Linked DNA regions of Homo sapiens: regions 1, 3, 4 and 5 are each linked to region 2. Evidence: promoter capture Hi-C in 16 types of primary human blood cells and fetal thymus (Javierre and others, 2016). All regions are on one chromosome and are shown on one strand. The core of a region is centred on a gene start or on the middle of the fragment in contact, and the rest is flanking DNA. Distances in the headings are between cores, read along the strand shown.

Evidence for each region. Contacts are between HindIII fragments. The CHiCAGO score rates a contact against its expected background, and 5 or more counts as called.
Region 1: the fragment with the promoter of KLRC4 here is called in contact with the fragment with the promoter of STYK1 in region 2 in 2 of 17 cell types (naive CD8 T cells and total CD8 T cells); the score reaches 10.1 in naive CD8 T cells.
Region 3: a fragment that was not itself captured here is called in contact with the fragment with the promoter of STYK1 in region 2 in 1 of 17 cell types (naive CD8 T cells); the score reaches 5.5 in naive CD8 T cells.
Region 4: a contact is called between the fragment with the promoter of KLRK1 here and the fragment with the promoter of STYK1 in region 2, in 2 of 17 cell types (naive CD8 T cells and total CD8 T cells). The highest score is 15.9, in naive CD8 T cells.
Region 5: a fragment that was not itself captured here is called in contact with the fragment with the promoter of STYK1 in region 2 in 2 of 17 cell types (total CD8 T cells and naive CD8 T cells); the score reaches 8.8 in total CD8 T cells.

Annotation. Positions count from the first base shown.
Region 1 is chr12:10,408,383-10,411,082 of GRCh38, forward strand. KLRC4 (killer cell lectin like receptor C4) reads right to left here and starts at 1,375. Exons shown (of 4, transcript NM_013431.2): 1 at 1,007-1,375; 2 at 530-628. The coding sequence starts at 1,193. It overlaps KLRC4-KLRK1 (KLRC4-KLRK1 readthrough), which reads right to left and starts at 1,764. Exons shown (of 13, transcript NM_001199805.1): 1 at 1,717-1,764; 2 at 530-628. The HindIII fragment of the contact is 5,444 bases long and covers 1-2,700 here.
Region 2 is chr12:10,672,636-10,675,335 of GRCh38, forward strand. STYK1 (serine/threonine/tyrosine kinase 1) reads right to left here and starts at 1,417. Exons shown (of 11, transcript NM_018423.3): 1 at 1,331-1,417. The HindIII fragment of the contact is 4,755 bases long and covers 1-2,700 here.
Region 3 is chr12:10,343,215-10,345,914 of GRCh38, forward strand. No RefSeq gene overlaps it. Among named protein-coding and RNA genes, the nearest start is that of LINC02617, 6.3 kb to the left of the region's middle. The HindIII fragment of the contact is 4,413 bases long and covers 1-2,700 here.
Region 4 is chr12:10,388,756-10,391,455 of GRCh38, forward strand. It overlaps KLRK1 (killer cell lectin like receptor K1), which reads right to left and starts at 1,286. Exons shown (of 8, transcript NM_007360.4): 1 at 1,188-1,286; 2 at 16-120. The coding sequence starts at 55. It overlaps KLRC4-KLRK1 (KLRC4-KLRK1 readthrough), which reads right to left. Exons shown (of 13, transcript NM_001199805.1): 7 at 16-120. The coding sequence starts at 55. The region is part of intron 3 of KLRK1-AS1 (KLRK1 antisense RNA 1); the gene reads left to right. The HindIII fragment of the contact is 4,388 bases long and covers 1-2,700 here.
Region 5 is chr12:10,361,458-10,364,157 of GRCh38, forward strand. It overlaps KLRK1-AS1 (KLRK1 antisense RNA 1), which reads left to right and starts at 2,312. Exons shown (of 4, transcript NR_120430.1): 1 at 2,312-2,576. RefSeq lists an enhancer at 1-10. The HindIII fragment of the contact is 2,751 bases long and covers 1-2,700 here.

The DNA.
Region 1 (2,700 bases), core at 125-2,624, 260 kb before region 2:
CTAGAAAAATTAAAGTGATTCTTACAAAATTAATATCTAGACAAATTATAATAAATTCAGTTGCTTACTTTGAAATACAAAATTTAAAATTATTTTAAATTGGAACAATCTGAAATAAAAATGACTTTTCTATAAAAATAATGAGATCTTTAAAACAAATATTTTTAAAGCCATTAGCATAAAACTTCACCATCTCTTATAGTATTTGATCTAACCACTTTCAAAAATTAATTTGTTTTTCTAAATATTTTTTCTCTTAAAACATGTCTTTGAGTCATGAAATCAGAATACATCTCTCTGTGTGTGTATCATATATACATATATATTTAGTACACACAAAAAAATAAATGTTTTCTACAATTATTCTGTTATTTATAAATTTGAAAAGTTCAGAAGCAGCATATTATCTTGGGGTTCAGAGATATACATTAAACAGAGAATTCTAATCCTCATTATTATGAAATGTTTCAAGGCGCTTCCAATCATTATAGTGAAAAGTTCCCTTATAATCTTTCAAGAATATGCTTACAAGGAATAAGAACTATTGTTTTTAACACAGTGGCCATCAGGACAATGCAAATGATTCCTAGGACCTCAGCAGTGAGCTTCTCTGGAGGTGGCAGTAAACCTGCAGGGAGAGAAAGAGGCACTGAGAGAGGGGAGATAGAGAGTTGATGAGAAGGTTTACGTACAAGAGAACTCACGTGCACAGGAAAACATAATGATAAACTCTGTCCTCTAAATCTACATCTACTCTAGTAATCTTTCTCTCAGAATATACCATTTCATTATCAGTAAATATAATGCTCCATGAGTTGTTAATCACAAATTACAATTGAACAATGCCTGAATAAAATCAGGCTTCAGATTTCATATTAGAATATTAGATCCTGACTTTGACCTCTGATTCTCACAAGTGCAAAATATTCCCTAATCTTTCCCCACCTTTCTGCATTCAACTGCACATCCTAGAACAATAATATTGAAGATCTATTTAATGTTTTACCTTTGCAGTGATATGTCTTGTCATTCCCTTGATGATCCGAAGAAGCATTTTGAAGGTTTAATTCTACTTGGAATATTTCCTGTTTGGTTCCTGAAATGGAGATTTTATTGCCCTTAAGTTTCCTTTGCTGCCTCTTTGGGTCCTGGGCCAGACTCACTTCTGAGTAGGTTCCTCTTTGTTTATTCATCTCTGCAGCTGTGTGATGTCAGGGACTGTGCTCTATGATAACTGCACTTAAGAAGCTATAAGTGGTGTATATTTTGACAGGATCCCTGGTATAGGCAAACTGCATGTGTTGGAGGCTGAGTAGTAATGTTCATTTTGCTGTTGACCAATATAAAAGTCTGGTACTAATTTCCTAAAGTTTTAAACTGAAATCTCTTTAAACAATAGGTCACTTTTTAAAAGGCCTTCTATATTTGACATAATATTATTAATGGGAACAATAAAAAACAATACATTTGTGAAAACTAAGAAGTAACTGAATATAAATATCTTTATTAATTTAAAATCAGATTCTACAGAAATATTTTATCACCAATAGAATACCTGTGTAAAAAACTAAAATTGAAATTTGAAAATAAAATGCACTAATTGTATGACAATTTTAAAATTCATTAATGTAAGGATTGAGCGCTAAAGATGGAGGAATAATTTGTTGGCATATAGAACAACTTTTAATACTAAAATACATTAAGTTAGTGACTTACATTCGTTTACTAAAAGGGCATGAGGTCTTGGCAAATGTTTTTTATTCTGAATGATTGAGGAAAACAGAAAAATTGTTAAAATTTTAAAGAAATATTTTATACCTTGTAAAACATTACATTAACTTATGCATAAACTAAATACTACTGAAAAAGATTTAACTCTTTATTTTACAGAATTGATTGGTAATTGATTTAATGACTAAAATAGGAAAACTGAAAATGATAAATATAAGTTTGGACCATCTATGAAAGAACACTTTAAGTTCAAACTTTCAGAAAGACCCTGTGGTTGTTTTAAAAGGCAGCGAGGGTCACTTTGGTTGTGTAAGTAATTGTAATAAATCAGAAAATATAATTTAATAATCTAGTCAATGAGCTCTGTAGCCAGTGAGACCTAAAATTAATTACAGCTTTGAAACTCATAATGCATGACCTTTACAAAGTTACTTGGTGTCTACAACACCAGTTTACTAATCTAGATTGGGGAAAATAATTTATGAAGTATAATGTATATAAAACCCTTAACATACAACCTGGCACACATTAGTCCTCAATACATATTAGATATTTTAATTATTTTTAACACAATTGCCATTTTATTATTTCTAATTCATACTGAGTGTGTAAAATAACTAATGAGGTAGGAGTCTCATGTCAGTGTAGTACATCTTTTTTGCAATGTTTGTTTGGCTCAATTTTTTTTAGGTCGTCCTATTATTTATAATTAAGTTTAGATTTGCATTTTATGGAAACTACTTCATTATTACATTCTTAAAAAAATAAAATCTGCTTCAATTAAATATAAGTATGTGTATGAGAAATTATGTTTGACATTCACAATTTGATGTATCCATTAAAAATGCATTTTTAAAGTCTGGGCTAAATATAAAGTATTATTACATCTATAATGATTATAAAATTTCAAATTAATTCTTCATTGTCGTGATATTTATCGGTTTCACTCTAAATTATATTGATTAACAA
Region 2 (2,700 bases), core at 167-2,666:
AAGGTGGAACAGTTTCATTCTGAAACCATCTCCCGCCAACCTCATCGGCATCTGTGAAAAAAATTGTCTTCCACAAAATCAGTCCCTGGTGCCTGGTGCCAAAAGCCATGCAGTTTGTGGTACCTTGTTACAGCAGCCCTAGCAAACTCACACAGTAATGGAGGCACTGAACGAAAAAGTATATGATTTTCATTGAAGCAAATACTTCATGATGTCTCATTGAAAGACCTAGCTGCCCCCTAGCTAGCTGTCAGTGGAGATTCCGGTGCATTGAGGGGGAAAAACCAGGTAGACAGCACAGAGTTCTGTTTCCAGGTGTATTTCAGTTGAGCTGTGCTGCACATTACAGTAACTCGACTCCTTTATTGCCACTACTTCCCACCGAGTGGGAAGGAAGTGTGGTCTCATAGGTATAAGAAACTCCAATGTGGAGAGGACCCATTACAGAAGGAAGCAACAATCGCATAAATGAAAGAAAGAAAGGGGGGATGAAGGGTTGATAGAGAAAAATGAAAGAGGAAAAAAGACATTGAAAAGAAAACAGAGGCTAAAATGGTGAAACCCCGTCTCTACTAAAAATACAAAAAAATAAATAGCCGGCCGTGGTGGTGGGAGCCTGTAATCCCAGCTACTTGGGAGGCTGAGGCAGGAGAATCGCTTGAACCTGGGAGGCGGAGGTTGCAGTGAACCGAGATCGCGCCATTGCACTCCAGCCTGAGTGACAGAGCAAGACTCCCTCCCCCACTCCCCACCCCAAATAAAAAGAAGGAAAGAAAACAGAGATTCAGTCAACAAGGGATAGCACATCAGGCTGTACACTTTTAAAGCATGGTTATTGATATCTCATTTAAATATCGCAACAACCCTGGAAAGTAATTACCGTATTTATGCTTTGCAGATGAGGAAGCCGAAGCTGAAAGCAACGATTCCATGGTCTGAAAGGCTATGCAGTCCTCTGACAAGTAATTCCTGTAACCTCATTCTTTCCCTTCCCCCTCTCCTGATGGCCCCCTCTCCAGGAATAAACAGAGGTCCCCCATTCCTGGGTTTTCTCATGTTTCTCTCTGCACCAAATCTGCTGAGTCAGGTTTACTCCCTTATCATATAGAAACACAGAAGCCAAACCCCACAAGATGCTGGTTCCGAAGAAACACAGGTTAATTCACTTGGTGATTTCTGTTTGTTCACATAAACACCCGTTCCGCTCCCAGCCTCTTCCCTTTTTCTCCCTCCCCAACTGCAAAGTCCTCCCCCAGCTGCCTCGCTGCCATTCCCTTCCCACCTTCTTTACCCTCCCCGCCGCGCCCGCCCCCCATACCCCGTTCACTACCGTGTCCCTCCTCTGGTCACTCCGGTTTCCGATGGCACCGGCCCAGTCGGAGGGGAAATAATGACAGGGTTGGGTAGGGCAAGGTGTGCCAGCCTCAAGGAAATGCTTTTCAGTCCCTCCTTCCCACTGCGGGGCGTGGCTGCCGGCAAAGGATGGAGTTCGGGCGGGCTCCCGCGAAGGGAAGTCTGCGGGCTCCGAGGTTTCCGGGACTCGCCACACTCGAGCCACAGGAAACCTCTGCTGCAACTGTAAAGGCTGGACTTGTTGCTGATCTATACTCATTTCCTACTCTAGTGATTGCTAGATGTCAGGTATCACGGTGACTCCAGTCCAGGTGAAAACGGAGTCACGATACAGGGCAACAGCGCCACCTCACGGCCGGCCCCGTAGCAGCGGCCTCCATTGGCGCCTAAAAATGGTCAGGATTCACATTCAGGTGGATTATTCCGCGCCAGGAACATTCTCCACCTGAAGGCTTTGCCGGGGTGTTACAAGATAATACTGAAGGGACGGGAGTGGTGGCTTACGCCTGTAATCCCAGAACTTTGAGAGGCCAAGGCGGGTGGATCACCTGAGGTCAGCAGTTCGAGACCAGCCTGGCCAACGTGGCGAAACCCCGTCTCTACTAAAAATACAAAAATTAGGCGTGATGGCGGGCGCCTATAATCCCAGCTACTCAGGAGGCTGAAGCAGGAGAATCTCTTGAACCCAGGAGGCAGAGATCGCATAGAGCCGAGATTGTGCCACTGCATTGCAGCTTGGGCGACAGAGCAAGACTCCGTCTCAGAAAAAAAAAAAAAAAAAAGAAAAAAAAAAGTACTGACCACTGCGGAGACGTGGGGGAACCTATAAGGAATTAATGAGAATTAAAACCCCAAGATTACGTAATAGATCATTCATTTAGAGCCCGCGCGCGCGCGCGCGCGCACACACACACACACACACACACACACACATATATCCCATTATGTCCTGGGTTCTCCTCTGGGGAAACAGTGAACAAGGTAGTTATGTTACCCGTCCACATGGAAACTAAAATAATAGAAAATACTTAAGACAATAGATAGCTGAAGGAATTCTGTTAGATATTAACACCTAATACAAATTCAATTAAAGAAATAAGAGTCATAGGTAACTTGAATATGTGACCAATTTATTCAGCATTGAACGCATACCAAACACAAACTGACAGTCATTAGAGCAAAAAGAACTTGAGTCAATGTAATGTGGCATATTTAGAGATTGAGGTATGTCAGTTCTCTAGAGCTTTCTCTATTGGCATTTTCACTTCCTTCAGGGCTTTTTAAAAACAGGATGAATTGTACTTAATGCCACTGAACTGTTCATTTTTAAATGGCTAATGGTTGATT
Region 3 (2,700 bases), core at 139-2,638, 330 kb before region 2:
TTTTCTAATATTTTGTGGCTGGTGAATTGAAAGCGTTTGCTCTTTTTTTTTTTTCAGCTTTATTGAGGTATAATTGATACATACCCTAAAGGGCACATGTTTAAAGGTACATGTGTTTCGACATATGTGTTGTATTTATGAAATGACCGTTAAGATAATAAACTTGTCCATCATGCCCCAAATTTCTTTGTGTCTTTTGCTTTCTTTGGATTATTGTCCCATATAGGTTCAGTTTCAAAACCTTCGTTATGCCGCTCAGGGTCCACTCTGCTCATGAGTCACTCAGTCATGAATGTGGGACTTAGATAGTGGTACAAATCATAGTTCAGTTCCCAAATCCTTTGCCACGCTATCTTGGCTTTGTACTATACTTGTGTAATTAATAGGTGAACCCTGTACTTGTGTCAACTCATATACAAAATTAAGCTATCCTCTTCTCCAACTTTGTCCTCTCTGAAATTTCCCATATTTTCTCAGCTCCAGAAATCCTTTTTCCTGATTTGTCTGAGAAGGAAAATATGTTTCTCTCAGAGTTTTAGCTGCTCATGCACTGATATCTTTTTTTCTTTCCTTCTGGATGTTCAGTGAACAAAAGTTTGGCTTATTGATAGCCTTCTGAGTCTATTCACATTTTATTATTTTTTATTTTGTTATTTTAAAAGTTTTACTGACAAATAATTTTATGCATTTATGGCGTAAAATGTGATATATTGATATATGCATACATTGTAGAAGGATTAAATCAAAGTCATTAACATAGCCATCAACTCACCTACTTATTTTTTGTGATAAAATATTTAAAATTTACTTTTTTAGCAATTTCAAAATATACAATATATTATTATTAGTTATCATCACTATGCTATGGAATAGATTACTAAAACTTATTCCTTCTGTCTAACTAACACTTTGTACCCTCTGACCAATGTCTCCCTTTTCTTCATTACCCCCCTGTACCTTCAGCCTCTGATAACCACCATTATTCTTGCTGCTTCCATGAGCTCAACTTTTTTAGATTCCAAATATAAATGAGATCATGCAGTATTTTTCCTTATGTGCCTGGGTTCTTTTAGTTAGCATAATGTCCTCCACATGTTTCTATGTTGTCACGAATGACAGAAGTTCCTTCTTTTTAAAGGCTGTATAGTATTTCTTTTTTTTGTACATTTTTTATTTTTTATTTTTTATTTTTTTTTCTTAGTTTTTATTACTATTACTATTATTATTATTATTATTATTATTATACTTTAAATTTTAGGGTACATGTGCACAATGTGCAGGTTAGTTACATATGTGTACACGTGACATGCTGGTGCGCTGCACCCACTAACTCATCACCTAGCATTAGGTATATCTCCCAATGCTATCCCTCCCCACTCCCCGCACCACACAACAGTCCCCAGAGTGTGATGTTCCCCTTCCTGTGTCCATGTGTTCTCATTGTTCAATTCCCACCTATGAGTGAGAATATGCAGTGTTTGGTTTTTTGTTCTTGCGATAGTTTACTGAGAATGATGATTTCCAATTTCATCCATGTCCCTACAAAGGACATGAACTCATCATTTTTTATGGCTGCATAGTATTCCATGGTGTATATGTGCCACATTTTCTTAATCCAGTCTATCATTGTTGGACATTTGGGTTGGTTCCAAGTCTTTGCTATTGTGAATAGTGCTGCAATAAACATACGTGTGCATGTGTCTTTATAGCAGCATGATTTATAGTCCTTTGGATATATACCCAGTAATGGGATGGCTGGGTCAAATGGTATTTCCAGTTCTAGATCCCTGAGGCATTGCCACACTGACTTCCACAATGGTTGAACTAGTTTACAGTCCCACCAACAGTGTAAAAGTGTTCCTATTTCTCCACATCCTCTCCAGCACCTGTTGTTTCCTGACTTTTTAATGATTGCCATTCTAACTGGTGTGAGATGGTATCTCATTGTGGTTTTGACTTGCATTTCTCTGATGGCCAGTGATGGTGAGCATTTTTTCATATGTTTTTTGGCTGCATAAATGTCTTCTTTTGAGAAGTGTCTGTTCATGTCCTTTGCCCACTTTTTGATGGGGTTGTTTTTTTCTTGTAAATTTGTTTGAGTTCATTGTAGATTCTGGATATTAGCCCTTTGTCAGATGAGCAGGTTGTGAAAATTTTCTCCCATTTTGTAGGTTGCCTGTTCACTCTGATGGTAGTTTCTTTTGCTGTGCAGAAGCTCTTGAGTTTAATTAGATCCCATTTGTCAATTTTGGCTTTTGTTGCCATTGCTTTTGGTGTTTTAGACATGAAGTCCTTGCCCATGCCTATGTCCTGAATGGTAATGCCTAGGTTTTCTACTAGGGTTTTTATGGCTTTAGGTCTAACGTTTAAGTCTTTAATCCGTCTTGAATTGATTTCTGTATAAGGTGTAAGGAAGGGATCCAGTTTCAGCTTTCTACATATGGCTAGCCACTTTTCCCAGCACCATTTATTAAATAGGGAATCCTTTCCCCATTGCTTGTTTTTCTCAGGTTTGTCAAAGATCAGATAGTTGTAGATATGTGGTGTTATTTCTGAGGGCTCTGTTCTGTTCCATTGATCTATATCTCTGTTTTGGTACCAGTACCATGCTGTTTTGGTTACTGTAGCCTTGTAGTATAGTTTGAAGTCAGGTAGCGTGATGCCTCCAGCTTTGTTCTTTTGGCTTAGGATTGACTTGGC
Region 4 (2,700 bases), core at 36-2,535, 280 kb before region 2:
GTGGTAAAAACATACCCCAGCTGTGTCGAGACCTCCGACCACGAATCCACCCCATCAAATACTTATAAGTGCACGTCTACCGCAGAGAGGAATCTAAAGTCTTCAATGCACAAAGGATTCCTGAATAAAATAAAACTGGGCATTTGTTTTTTGTTCTCTTTCCCGTGGTGAGATAAAATATTTTGAATAGAAAAGTAAAATGCAGAAACTTTTCCCCTGTGCATGCCTTTAAGAAAAGAATAGAAATGACAATTCACATAAAGCCAGGCAAAATTAATTTTATACATTTCTCTTGGTTGTAAAATAATCGCCAATTACTTCAAAATGTCATAACAATATAATGAACCTATTAATTCACCTACATTGAGATATTTAATACCAATATTTTACTTTACTGATATTAGATAACAACACACCCAGTTTTCTGTTTATAGTCGTTTATTGCTTCTTGGCCTTTTAGCTAAGATCAAGTGTTTCCAGTTGTTTATTTTATCTGGCAATAATTTAGTTTTCTTTCTGCAAGCTAAACTCAGGTAAGTTATATGCACTTTTGTTGAATGTCCTTTTCTAGTGCATTTTAATCCAACGTGCCCATATCATCATCATCAACAAATTATCATCACCATCATCATTAACAAAACTAATCTCACATGTTTATATAGTAACATCTTAGCAATGCACAGCAGAGCTTCCAGAAAAAACCATTTAATAAATAAGCATAGTGCTTAGATTTCAAAAATAAAAGCTATTTCATATTTGATTATGATAGTTGGAAAGCACAGATATAACTTGTTTCACCTTGCATGTAAAGATGTGTATCAAAGGTAAGTGCCCCCTACAGCATCAGAAAACTCAAAAATTTGACAATTTAAATTGAATCTCAATTCTTCTCATCCTAAATGTAAAGATTCATTTTTCTAGTTTTGCTTAGAGACAAGGCTTCTTCTTATAGTAATATTACAACTTCTGATTCTTCAATAAGTATATCCTAATTACCTATCATCAGATACAGTGATAGAATATACATCAGAAATGATAAGCATTCCGTATCCTCAGGAGTTCTATTCAAGCATCTAAGAAACAATTAGAATTACCTTATAGTGTAAATATTTTTATTTTTTTGAGGTTGAAATATAATTTCTCATATCTTGAATAATAAACACACACACATACACACATACACACACCTGCTCAGAGAGGGAAGATCTTGATTCTTGTGGATAAAAGCCTTCTATAAAACTAGAAAATTTAGATATGTCCTCAGTTCCTGATCTAGAATTGAAAGTGGAGATACTTAGTGAATTTCTATCTTTGAGAAAGATGTGACAAATATTATAATCTCATCTTCCTGTGGAAAAACATAAACCACAGTACTTCCGCCTTATCACTACAAAAATATTGTTAATTTGGTAAAAGAGTTAAGACCACCCATTGTTGGATAAATGTTAGGTTGGTGCAAAAGTAATTGTAGTTTTGCCATTATTTTAAATAACATTTTAGGATTTGAAAATGATGAATTTAAATGATGCCATTTAATCCTAAATATTTTAGAGATTCAATTCAATTCCAGTTAATACCTCAGGTTTTGTTGTAGAACTTACAAAGCAGAATTCTACATGTACATTAAATTACAAAAGTCAAGACTAGGAAAGTCACAATTGAAGATGAAGAAAATGTGGGAGCCTTGTTTTACTAGATAGTAAGACCTATGTTAAAACCGTATTAATAAAGGCAAAGTGGCATGTGGGGCATAGATAGACAAATTGAGAAGGGTAAAAATACAGACAAGAAAAAGTCATGTGCATAGATTAAAAAATATAAGGTAACATTGCAGATAAAGTGGGAAATTAGCTCCTATTCAATAATTTGTCCTGGGTTACTATCACACTGGCCTTTAAGTTACAAAAAATTAGTCCTGGGAATTTTTAAATTTTAATATAAAAAACATGAAATTGCATCTCTGTCATATCTACATCATATGCAGGAGAATTAGAAACTTAAATATATACCCCAGTATACATAAGAATAATATATGAATTGATACCAATGAACAAGATAAGCTAAATATATATTTTATGTTTATTAATTTAAAATACTAACATAAGACATCATATAAAGTAATATAAGATGAACACATTATAACATTTTAACAAAAACCAAAGCTATTAATCTTAAAACTCTGAAATATAAGGAAGGAAAACAGCTTTCATGTGGTGATGTGTTAAAGTTGGACAATAAATTTATTCAACATTTTTTTTCTTTAGCGAATGCTATTTGCTATGCACTTTTCTAGATCTTGAGAATGTCAAAGTAAACAATCCAAAAGAAAGTTTTTGCCCACATGGAAATTAATTACTTTTTTTTTTTTTTTTTTTAAGAGATGGAGTTTCACTCTTGTTGTCCAGGCTGGAGTGCAACGGGGCGATCTCGGCTCACTGCAACCTCCGCCACCTGGGTTCAAGCAATTCTCCTGTCTCAGCCTCCAGAATAACTGGGATTACAGGCATGTGCCACCACACCTGGCTAATTTTTGTATTTCTAGTAGAGACGAGGTTTCACCATGTTAGTCAGGCTGGTCTCGAACTCCTGACCTCAGGTGATCCTCCTGCCTCAGCCTCCCAATGTGCTGAGATTACAGACGTGAGCCACCACACCCAGCTGGAAATTACTTTTTAGTTTAGGTGATATAAAATGAATAAG
Region 5 (2,700 bases), core at 86-2,585, 310 kb before region 2:
GACAAGAAATGTTTCTGGAGCTGCCTTAAAAGAAACAAAAATTGCCCAAGGACCCCTTTTTTTCCCTATCTGCCTAAAAGAATTTCTTAGTAACTCCTATAATAGTATGTCAAAGTAAAAATAAAAATGCAGACACAAATCTCTAAATGTAGTGTTTTATTTGGGAAGAAAGAATTGCAGTTCAGGGCATACACGTGGTCTTCGGTATCTCCAAAGAGCAAAGAGAAGGTTAGAGGTTTTACATATTGCTTTTTGAGAAAGTTCATTGATATTTGTAAGGATTTGGTGAGCTGGCAAGCTCCGATTTTTGCGTGACAACAGTGTGAGCAAACATTAGTTCTAGAGTTGCAGTAAGCTACTTCAGAAGCTACAGATAAAACTGGTTTCTGGTTACAACAGGCAGTTTCAGCAGCCAGGCTTGCAGATAATTACATTCTTGGAGCAATGCTTTGTACCCAGAATGTTTTCCCACTGGATTCTCCACTCTGTTTTATTTAGTTATGAAAAGAATTACTCAATTTTTATAATCAACTTTCACACCTAAATTACCTCCCAAAGGCACCTCCTAATACTATACCATTGGGAGTTAGGATTTCAAATATGAATTTCAGGGAAACAGAAACATTCTGTCCATAACATTCTGCCCATGGCAAAGTTTATGTTCTTTTTGCCTGCATTTATTCTGTAAAAAGTAAAGTAGAGGTTGCTCTTCAAAGACTTTCCTCCCTAACTAATTAGGAATAAATAGTAACTTCTCTTAGAAGCAAAATTTATTCAAAGACCTGTGCTCCTAAATATTTGCCCTGGCATGCTTATACTGGTCCAAGCAAGCATTAGGTCATAGCCTGTTCCTCTTCCTTATTTAAAAGTGTTTTTACCTTTCTCAGCATTCCACAAGTTACTTCCTCCTTCCTTTGTTCTCCTCTACCTTTGCCTCTTTTAAAAAGTTCTAAATTGCTAGCCAGTCGGGACAAATACAGAATGTGAGGTCCTGTTCCAGTCAATGGAAACTGGATACAGCAGTAGGGTGGATGCGGCAGGTTATAAATGATGCTGTCTCCTTTGTTTGGTGTACACTCGTGGCAAAACTGCTGATGAGTATACCCTTTCTGCAGGAAGTAAAAAAAAAAAATGGCCACACTAAATAAATCTATGTTCAAGTGCTATTTTTTTATGGCACTGGGGAACAAGCATTTCAAACAATTTGGTGGCAGTCTGTATGGGGATACATTCTCCTCCAGGGGTGGTCTCCAGTCCTCTCTCATGAGGGAGTGCACTCCCCTACCTCATTGAAGGGGCCCTCAGGAATGACAAATTGAGACAAATAAACCCAGACTCTCAGCAACACAGAGAGAAAAAAAAAAAAAAGAAACTGGCCAGCAACCTAGCTTAAAGGATCCTCACATACTGTGGCGACAACTTTGTGCACAGGCCAAGAAAGAAGAAGCTGTGGGAGCCAATAAAGTATTTCCTTGGTGATCGGGACTAAAAAAAAAAAAAAAAAAAAAGCCACAGGACGGTAAAGCATTCCTTAGTTAGGACGTACCAAGGAGAGAGAAACTGCAGGGTCAGTAGATTATTCCTTAGTCGGGATGTCTTGGAGGTTAAAAATAGGTGAGAAATCCCCATAGAAGGGGTGTTGAACCTCAGAAAGAGGTGAGAAATCCCCATGAGGCGGGTTGAACCTCAGAAAGAGGTGAGGAATCCCCATGGGAGGGGGGCGTTGAACCTCACACAAACTCCCAGTAGTAAGAAAAATATTCAGAACCCCCCTTTCCTTTCTTCTTGGGGGAAGAAAGAATAGCCCCACTGCCACCAGTCCCTTCCCTAGGGAAAGGGGAAGGAGGGGGAAAACAGCAGCATAGGTGGCTGGCATGGAACAGGAATTAAAATAAATTACAGAATGTGTAAGCAAAAACTCAGTTGTATATAAGAAAACCCAATTCCCCCCTGAGGAAGAGAAAGAGCCGGAGTCCTTTAAAAATTAACTGCCTGTTTTCTGTGGCTAGTGAGCCTTATCTCTCCCTTTCCCAGGCATTATGAAGACCCTATTTCTCTAGCTGTGCAGCTGCAAGGTCACTAGACAGATAAACTCAAGTCATAAAACATGTTTTTCCTTGAAAAGAAATGATGTCATGTATGTCTCAATTGAATAACTGTCTTTGTTTCTTGCTTCTGTTATACGCTTCCCCCTGCACAAATCTTCCCCCACCCACGAAATGCTTAAAAGGTAACTTGACTCTTTGTTTGGGGCTCAGTCCTTTGGATGTTAATCCAAGTGGACCAGTGCACCTAAATAATAAATATCCTCCTCAATCCCTTGGTCTCTCTGATTCCTTATATATCCCGATACATTTCTGGGGGCTCATCAGGATTGGAGATGACAGATTTACTGTCCCCTTTGCCTGCGATACTAGGTCCCCGGGGCCAGGAGAGACCCGGCATCCAAGGTGTGCCACAGCTGAGCTTCACCCGGATATATAGACCAGCTCTCCCCACGTCCCAGCACCCTGCCTGGCAGCGCAATGGAACCGAGGATGGGGCTGCAGGACGATACCAGCACTTCAGGAACTGTGGTAAGGAGTATAGGCCCAAGGCAGGAAAGCCCGTCCCATAGGGACAAAGGGGAGCTTGATCACCTCCCAGGGACTGACCACTAATCCAACCCAGAGTGGCTGGGGGCAGCAGGAGTGGCCTGCC